Linked DNA regions of Homo sapiens: regions 2 and 3 are each linked to region 1. Evidence: promoter capture Hi-C in human tissues and cell types (Jung and others, 2019). All regions are on one chromosome and are shown on one strand. The core of a region is centred on a gene start or on the middle of the fragment in contact, and the rest is flanking DNA. Distances in the headings are between cores, read along the strand shown. Region 1 holds the start of ARMC3 (armadillo repeat containing 3). Region 2 has its middle 41 kb from the start of PIP4K2A. Region 3 has its middle 69 kb from the start of PIP4K2A.

Region 1 (3,032 bases), core at 325-2,824:
GCAATAAGCTGAGATCACCCCATTGCACTCCAGCCTGGGTGACAGAGCGAGACTCTGTCTCCTCCCCCAAAAAAAGCCTATGTGTTTTATCACCATATTGGGTATGATAGTTAATGGAGGAGAGACTGAACAGCTGACATAGGTCGGTGGCAATGAGCTATGGAGATGATCCTTACAAGGGTAATACATTTCACTGTGGAGAATTTGGAAAACAAGGGCACAACGAATAAAATAAAAATCACCCAAAGATAAGCTCAGAGAGATCAATACTATTTCTTTTCTTTTCCTTTCCTTTCCTTTCCTTTCCTTTCTTTTTCTTTTTCTTTCTCTTTCTCTCTCTCTTTCTCTCTCTCTCTCTCCCTCTCTCTCTCTCTTCTCTTTTTTTCTTTTTCTTTTTCTTTTTTGAGACAGAGTCTCACTCTGTTGCCCAGGCTGGAGAGTGGCCTGATCTTGGCTCATTGCAACCTCCACCTCCCAGGTTTAAGAGATTCTCCTGCCTCAGCCTCCTGAGTAGCTGGGATTACAGGTACCCGCCACCACGCTCGGCTAATTTTTGTATTTTCAGTAGAGACAGGTTTCCCCACATTGACCAGGTTGGTCTCGAACTCCTGACTTCAGGCGATCCACCCGCCTCAGCCTCCCAAAGTGCTGGGGTTGTAGGCGTGAGCCACCGTACCTGGCTTTGTGTGTTTTTCTAAAGTGATTTTAACATCCTGCCTCAACTTCTATCCCCTACTTTCACCTTCCCTTCCTGGGTTCATATTCCTACTAAATTCTTATATTAACAAATAAATTCATGAAGTCTCAGTTTCCCTTCATTGCTTTAATAATCTCCAGTGGATTAGCATAACATGCCATTACAAATATTTTAAAATCCCTTAGCTATCTAGCCAGTCTCTGATTGTTGAAATTTGTTTCTAATTTTCTGGAAATATGGACAGGGCTGAAAGAACGTCCTTGGACATAAAATTTTCATCCATTATCCCCAACTATTTCTTTAGGATAAATCTCTAGCAGTAAATTAACTGGGTGAAAACTTCAGGGCATTGGATATGCAAACAACTCTGCTCTAAAAATGCATCTTCTTGACTACTGGAGCCATTTTTTTTTTCACGAGTTGATTGGTCCTTTGTATTTGTTCTTCGTGAACGTTCAGCCTATGATTTTAAATATTTTCTAATGAGTTCTGCTTTGAGAAGATTTAAAGAGGAGGAGGGCTCAAGAAATCGAGGCCACTTCTGAGTTGCTCACAGTCAAGTAACGGAATCTGACTTGATCTCACCTCAGATCCCCTCTCGGGCCTCAGTTTTGTCACCTGTTGAATGGGAGGTGGCGGGATGCTTACGAAACCCACCCCAAGCCCCGTCTAACCCTGCGGGCGCGAGGCAGAAACTAACAACGCCCAGCAAGGTGTTGCCTCACTGACCCAAGCAGTCTGCGCCCACGTGGCACCTTCTCCTTTCCCAGGTTTTCCTCAGGCCTCTGCCTTGGGCCTCCCCACCCCACGGGGTTACCTTTACCTGCCGGGAGATCCCGCCGAGTAGCTAGCTGCTCCGCAAACCCAGCAGACGAACCCCCAGTCCCTTGTTGTGCCTCGTTGCTAGGCGACGCCACGCCGCGCCGCGCCTGCGCCCTGGGAACGCTCGGGGCTGCTAGGGCGCCCATTGTCCCGCCGAGGGCAGCGGCCAGTGCGGGAGGAGCCAAGTGCGTCCGCGATTACCTGAATCCAGTGCTTTAGGGGAGAATGGAAACTGGGGGTGGAAGCTGTAAATCAAGAGGCAGTTCAGCCTCAGTTTCTGGCCCAAGGACTGGCTGTGGGTTCAAATACGCAAATACTATTGCATTCTTCCAAATAGAGGCGTCAGCCGGAATCTCTATGCAGATGAAACCCACATCAGCCACCTCCTGCCCAGGCTCCGTTAAGCTGCAGACCTGCACTGCCACATCTCTTTGCACTAGGATGTCCAATCCGTTTCCACAGAACTTCTCATGGCCCTTCAAAGCCCCGTTCTCTTCCTCTTTCTTTCCTCTTCCTGCCATTCTTCCAATTGCCTAGACTCAGAAGGAGCTTCAATTTCCCTTCTTCCTCCCATGCCCCCCAACCACAGTCATCACTTCAGCCACTTCTTGGCGGCTTACATTTTGTTTCCTGCTTGTTCCCTTTCTCATATCCTTATTGTCACTTCAATCCAGCTCGTCATTTTTTGGCCTTCTGGCTGAGAAATTCAGTTGCTCTCTGCTTACAGTTCTTTCTACGTATCACAGGCAAATCGGCCATCCAGAAATCATCGTTCCAGTCTTGTCACTTCCCTACTCAAATGTCAGCGGCTTCCTAAGATAAATTTTCAACACATTGGCCTGGAATTTAAGACCGTCTGCTCCATCTCTACTCCATCTGTGCAACCACATTTTCAACCGATCTCCACCATCCAAGCTCCAGCCAAACTTACTGTTCCCGAAATTTTCCACACTTTTCTCTAGATTTTCTTGCTTATCTGTTCATCACTTCATTTTTCAACAAATATTTATAAAGTAGCTTCTATTTCCCAGGTCATGTGCAATACCTGAAATATTCTCTCATTTCCACTTAATTAAGCCCAGCTCAAATGCCATCTTCATAAAATATTTTTTGATTGCCTTTAGCAAAAAGTCTCTCCCTCTCCTCTTAGACTTTGCAAATTCCGTCTCCTACCGGCCCCTGTTGGTCTCCCAGTCCTAAGAATGATAGATGCTTCTTATAATTGCTACTTTTATATATCTTATGTTCTCTTCTCACCATTTAAATTGCCTGATAAACAGCTTTATAACAATTATTTGTATTCAGTTTTCCATGGTCAAATATCCGGTGTGACTTCTGTATAGAAAAGATCTTAAGTAATGGTCATGAAAGTAGGAAAAGGATTAAGACCAAGTAGCATCAAGGAAACTAAGGAGGGAGTTTCAAGAATATAAGCGTCATCAAGTGTTATATGATTGGACCTTGAATAATATACACCTGTATTTTCAGCCTCTCCCTGTCTTCCACGTTTTTT
Region 2 (3,032 bases), core at 386-2,885, 170 kb after region 1:
ACATGTTTATGCAACTAGAATACAGCTTATATAGCACCAGCAAAGTCCTTCGATCTACATCACAATTCAATTGCTTACATTTCTCAACTTCACACAATTTAACGGAAATCTTTTGAAACTGTGATGCTGAAAATTCAGCAACTTTTTGTTAGCCAACAAAAAATTAGGTTTCTCTATTAGTATAAATAATTATGTAATAATTTTCATGGGCATATTCACGCTTTTTATTGGTATAATGTGGTATAGTTCTTAATCAATAAGAAAGAATTATGTCTAAATTACAGAAAGAATCTTTGAAGAGTTTGATTAATCACAGCTACAAAGAACACTTTTATAAAAATACTGGTCCAGAAAGCAGATTATTCTAACTCATTCCTCAGATCACCCTAGTATTGCTTATTGAGTATCAGTGTGGTGCTACACAAGGCACTCATTTTTGAAACTTTTGCAGAAGAGCAAATGCATTCACTATGCTTTGCCACATGGTTATTTCAAAATTTCAATTAAGAACAAACATTCATCATTTTCCCTAGCAAGCTCCTATGCCCAGACCGTTTGAAAGGGCAGGAGAACAATTTAATAAGTTAAATCCTGTCAAAAATAACCTATCAAGCAGATGACAAAAGGAACCTTTGCTTTGAAGCTTGAAAAAAAATTGCATTTCACTATGAAAAATCGCCTGTCTTTAGGATCTGTTTCATGTTTCTTCAAACGATTCATATCAACCTTCCCACAGAGCAAGATTTGAGATGAAGTTATGTAATTTATTGTCATGCTTTAAACATATTATATTTATTTGTCCCTTTGATAGCTTTTTTTCTCTTAGGTCCTTGGAGGCAGTGAGATTACTGTGAATTGACTCTTCCTGTGGTTAATGGAAAAAGTGGCAGGATTTGCTGAAAGTGAGGAAGGTAAGGAGTACAACAGAAGAGATGGAATGAAGAAAAAAAAAAGGTAATGTTGCAGAATGAAAGTTTTGTTAGTGTAAGAGTTGAAATCTGAAGGATTTTCATTCTGGACCTAAAAATAGAAGATCAACCCATAGGTAAATATCACAAATACCATTGGGGTGGAGACTTTGCCTCTAGTGTAGCTTCACCACCAAGTCCAATAGTCTGTATTGTGCAAAGAAGGGAGGAGGCCGGGCAAGGTGGCTCATGCCTGTAATCCCAGGACTTTGGGAGGCCAAGGTGGGAGGATCACCTGAGGTCAAGAGTTCGAGACCAGCTGGCCAACATGGCGAAACCCCATCTCTACTAAAAATATAAAAATTAGCTGGGTGTGGTGCTGCACACCTGTAATCCTGGCTACTCAGGAGGCTGAGGCAGGAGAATCACTTGAATCCAGGAGGTGGAGGTTGCAGTGAGCCAAGATCGTGCCACTGTACTCCAGCCTGGGCAACAGCAAGACCCCATCGAAAAAAAAAAAAAAAGAGAAGGGAGGAGAAGTTCTTGGGTGTCTCTGAGGTGCCCTGATCTGCAGTGGGTAGGCCCTTTACATATTTATCTTGTGTCATCCTCATGACAACTCCATGAAGTAGATGCCCTTTCCCAATATACAGATCAGGAAACTGACACTCAATGAAATTACAGAATAGATTGCAAGTAACCTTTGCCACAGAGCTGAACTCTAGTCTGTTAATTCTAAAGCTCACAATTCTACAACAGAAGTCATCTTGTGTTAATATGAAAATCTGTTCTGTCTGTGGCCTGCCTTTTACTCAGTTATGGTCCCAAATCCATCAACAGCATATAATGGAATGTGATGTGAGAAGATCCTGTCAATGGAAGTCTTTTAAGCCATAAATGAAAGAAAATCAATGAGGAAATGCATCCAAAATAGGACACAGACAAAAATCAGCAACCTCGGTGAGTTGGTTAAATGACACATTGATCATCCAAATTAATGGTTCTTTACCTTTGTTTGAATTATGGGACCCTTTGAGATTCTGATGACAGCTATGAAACTAGACATTTATACAACCTTTCAGAGGGCTGAAGAACCACCACTTCAGTGTATTTAAAAATAATATTGTTTAAACTCAATATTTTTCAAGTGTAAAATGTATTTAAATATGAAAATGTTTAGGTAGGGCGGGCATCTGTAATCCCAGCACTTTGGGAGACCAACGTGGGGAGATCACTTGAGGCCAGGAGTTTGAGACCAGCTTGCGTAACATAGTGAGATCCCATATTCACAAAAATTACTGAAACTAGCCAGGTGTGGTGGCATATGCCTGGAGTTCCAACTACTCAGGAGGCTGAAGCAGGAGGATTTCTTGAGACCAGGAATTCAAGGTTACAGTGAGCTAGGATCGCACCACTGCACTTCAGCCTGAGTGACAGAGCAAGACCCTGACTCTTTATTTTAAAAAAAAAAGTTATGCATATAAATGAAGGACTTTTTGGATACCTTTATATACTCTGCAAACATAAATTATCTGAAGCTTGACCACTGCGATGACACAACTTTTTAAATTTTAATTTAATTCTTAATGATTTTAGAGATGAGGTCTTTCTACGTTCCCCAGGCTGCCCTCAAGCTCCTGGGATCAAGCCATCCTCCACCTCAGCCTCCCAAGACCCTGGGTCTACAGGTACGCACCACCACACTGGCTTGTGATGACGTAACTTTTGAATGAACCGATCAATGTTAAGGGTTACTACTAGGGGCCTTGGATCAGAAATCCATCCATCTTCAAGAAGCCACATTAGAAGGGAACCATTTAAGAAGGATGTTGCTGGCATGTAAAACCAATAGCAGTACCCTACTCCTCGCAGTTCTAGAGGAATAGAACCGAGCATGAATGCTAATTCAGTTGATAATTTCATTTTCGCCCATTATATAAAGTTACATCCTATTATTTCATGTAAATTGATGCATGATGGGGCAGGGCAGGCCCAAGGGCCAGAGCCTGAGGGACCCCAGGGCCTGGATGCCCCAGCCAGCCTCCTCCTAAAGGGGAAGTTGTAAGAGGAATAGGATGACCTCTCACCACCACTTCCCTTCCCCAAAAAAGTGAGAAGCATGGA
Region 3 (3,032 bases), core at 288-2,787, 140 kb after region 1:
AATATTTCTTATGAACACAGACACAAAAATCCTTAACAGAATTTCAGTAAATCAAATCCAGCTACATATAATAAAAGAATACATCATGAACAAGTGGGGTTTATCCTAGAAATGTAATATTGAGTCAACATGCAAAAATCAATAAATATAATTCATCATACTAGCAGACTAAAAAGGAGAAACTGTATGATTCATATAGTTTCATCTTAAAAGGTGCAGAAAAGCATTTGACAAATTTCAATACCCATTCATGATTTAAAACAAACAAACAAAAAGCCCTTAGCAAACTAGAAATAGGAGAAAACTTTCTCAATGTGATAGAGGAAATCCACCAAAAACCTACAGCTAATGCCATAATTTAAAACTGAATTATTTTCTCCTAAGATCGGGAAGAAGGCAAGATGTTCCCTCTTGTCACTTCTATTCAGTGCGTGTTTCCAGTTAATGTTATAAGGCAAGAAACCAAAATAAAATTCCTATCTTTGGAAATGTATATGTAAAACTGTCACTATGCACCAGCAATGTGCCTGTTGATACAGAAAATCCAAAGGAATCTACCAAAAAGTAACCACAGCTAAGAAGCAAATTTAAACAACGTCACAGGATACAAGGTCAACATACACAAATCAATTATATTTCTATATGGTAGCAACAAACAATCGGAAATTTACATTTTAACAATATGTTTAAAATGGCATCACAAAACATGATTTATTTAGGAATAAACATAACAAAATAATGATGGTATGTATAGTAACCAAATCAGTCTTTTCCTTTTCAGCAGTTTTCAGTTATCTACAGTCAACTACAATCCAAAAATATGAAGATATTTTGAGAGACCACATTCACACAACTTTTATTACAGTTTGTTATAATTCTTCTGCTTTATTATTAGTTATTGTTACTCTCTTACTATGCCAAATTTATAAATTAAACTTTATCATAGGTAAGTAGATATTAAAAAAACATAGGATATATAGGGGTCAGTACTCTCCACAGTTTGAGGCATAGCTGGGGTTATTGGAACGTGTCCTCTGCAGATAAGGTTGGGCAACTGCACAGAGAAAAGTCCAAGACTTTGCTGAGATAAATTAAAGAATATCTCAATAAATAGTGAGACACACATGTTCATAGTTCAGTTGACTTGGTATTGTTAAGATGTCAATTCTCCCTAAATTGTGAGTCAGTGCTGTCTCAATCAAAATCAAGCGAATTTTTTATGTAGAAATTTATATAGAATTGCAGGCGGGGCGCAGTGGGTCACGCCTGTAATCCTAGCACTTTGGGAGGCCAAAACAGGCAGATCACCTGAGGTCAGGAGTTCGAGACCAGCCTGGCCAACATGGTGAAACCCCTAAAAATACAAAAATTAACCAGGTGTGGTGGTGCGCTCCTGTAATCCCAGCTACTCAGGAGACAGGCAGGAGAAACTCTTGAACCCAAGAGGCAAAGGTTGCAGTGAGCTGAGATAGCACCACTGCACTCCAGCCCGGGTGATGGAGCGAGATTCCATCTCAAAAAAAGAGAAAAAAGAAATTTATGTAGAAATGCAGAATCCTAGAATAAGCAAAATAATTTTGGAGAAAAAAAAAGAACAATCACTGGTCAATTTCAAGGCTTACTATAAAGCTAAAATAAGACAGTGGGATGTTAGCATAAGGACAGACATATAGATCCATGAAACTGAGAGTTCAAAAATAGGCCCACGCATAAATAGTCAATTGGTTTTCAGTTTTCAATAAAAGTACCAAGATATCAAAAGGGAAAAGGTGATTCTTTCTTCCTTCCTTCCTTCCTTCCTTTCTTTTTCCTTCTCTCTCTGTCTCTCTCTCTCTTTCTTTTTTTTTTTTTTTTTTTAGACAGGGTCTTGCTCTGTTACCTAGGCTAGAGTTCAGTGGCATGATCACGGCTCGCTGCAGTCTCAACCCCTTGGGCTCAGCCTCCTGCGTAGCTGGGGCTACAGGTATGTGCTGCCACACCCGGCTGATGTTTTAGTCTTTTGTAAGGGGTCTCCCTATGTTGCCCAGGCTGGTCTCCAACTCCTGGCCTCAAGTGATCCACCTCAGCTTCCCAAAGTGCTGGGATTACAGGCATGAGCCACCGTGCCCAAAAATGCCCTCAATGTCTGACACAAAATGTATTCTAGAAAAATTGACACAAAATGTATTCTAGACCTAAATGGAAAATCTGAAACCATAAAACTTCAACAAAACAGGAGGGAAAACCTTTGTGATTGGGGCAAAGATTTCTTAGATGGGACAAAAAGTGTACAAACCATGCATTAAAAAATTAGCACATTGGAGATATCATCAAAATGTGAAACTTCTACTCTTCCACCTTATTTTTGTTGTTGTTGTTGTTGTTTTTTAGACAGAGTCTCACTCTGTCACCCAGGCTGTAGTAGTGTCGTGATCTTGGATCACTGCAACCTCCACCTCCCAGGTTCAAGCAACTCTCCTGCTTCAGCCTCCCGAGTAGCTGGGATTACAGGCACCCGCCACCAAGCCTGGCTAATTTTTGTAATTTTTTTAGTACAGATGGGGTTTCACCATGTTGGCCAGGCTGGTATTGAACTTCTGACCTCAAGTGATCAGCCCACCTCGGCCTCCCAAAGTGCTGGGATTACAGGCATGAGCCACTGCACCCAGTCTCTTCCACCGTATGTTAAGTGAAATAAGCCAGGCACAGAAAGGCAAGTACTATATGATCTCACTCATAGGTGGAATCTAAAATGTTGTTATCATAGAAGTAGAGAGTAGAATAGCAAGCAGTTACCAAAGGATGGGGAGGGGTCTCAAAAAATAATACAGTTAAGAAAGTGAAAAGGCAAAACACAGATTAGAAAATAAAGGACTTACGTCCAGAATTTGTAAAGAATCTCAAACTTCAATAATGAGGCACAGTCCTTGATTTTTTTAATTGGTAAAAGATTTGAATAGACATTTCCCCAAAGAAGATGTACTAATGGCACAAAAAGCACATCTAAAAAACACTCAACATTATTCATCAGCAGGGAAATGCAAATAAGACCA

The links. Contacts are between HindIII fragments. The study calls those that stand out against the background at their distance.
Region 2: a fragment that was not itself captured here is called in contact with the fragment with the promoter of ARMC3 in region 1 in 2 of the 25 tissues and cell types used here (hippocampus and mesenchymal stem cells).
Region 3: a fragment that was not itself captured here is called in contact with the fragment with the promoter of ARMC3 in region 1 in 1 of the 25 tissues and cell types used here (dorsolateral prefrontal cortex).

The regions. Positions count from the first base shown.
Region 1 is chr10:22,926,595-22,929,626 of GRCh38, reverse strand. It overlaps ARMC3 (armadillo repeat containing 3), which reads right to left and starts at 1,574. Exons shown (of 19, transcript NM_173081.5): 1 at 1,521-1,574. The HindIII fragment of the contact is 8,735 bases long and covers 1-3,032 here.
Region 2 is chr10:22,754,446-22,757,477 of GRCh38, reverse strand. No RefSeq gene overlaps it. Among named protein-coding and RNA genes, the nearest start is that of PIP4K2A, 41 kb to the right of the region's middle. The HindIII fragment of the contact is 5,778 bases long and covers 1-3,032 here.
Region 3 is chr10:22,782,025-22,785,056 of GRCh38, reverse strand. No RefSeq gene overlaps it. Among named protein-coding and RNA genes, the nearest start is that of PIP4K2A, 69 kb to the right of the region's middle. The HindIII fragment of the contact is 7,571 bases long and covers 1-3,032 here.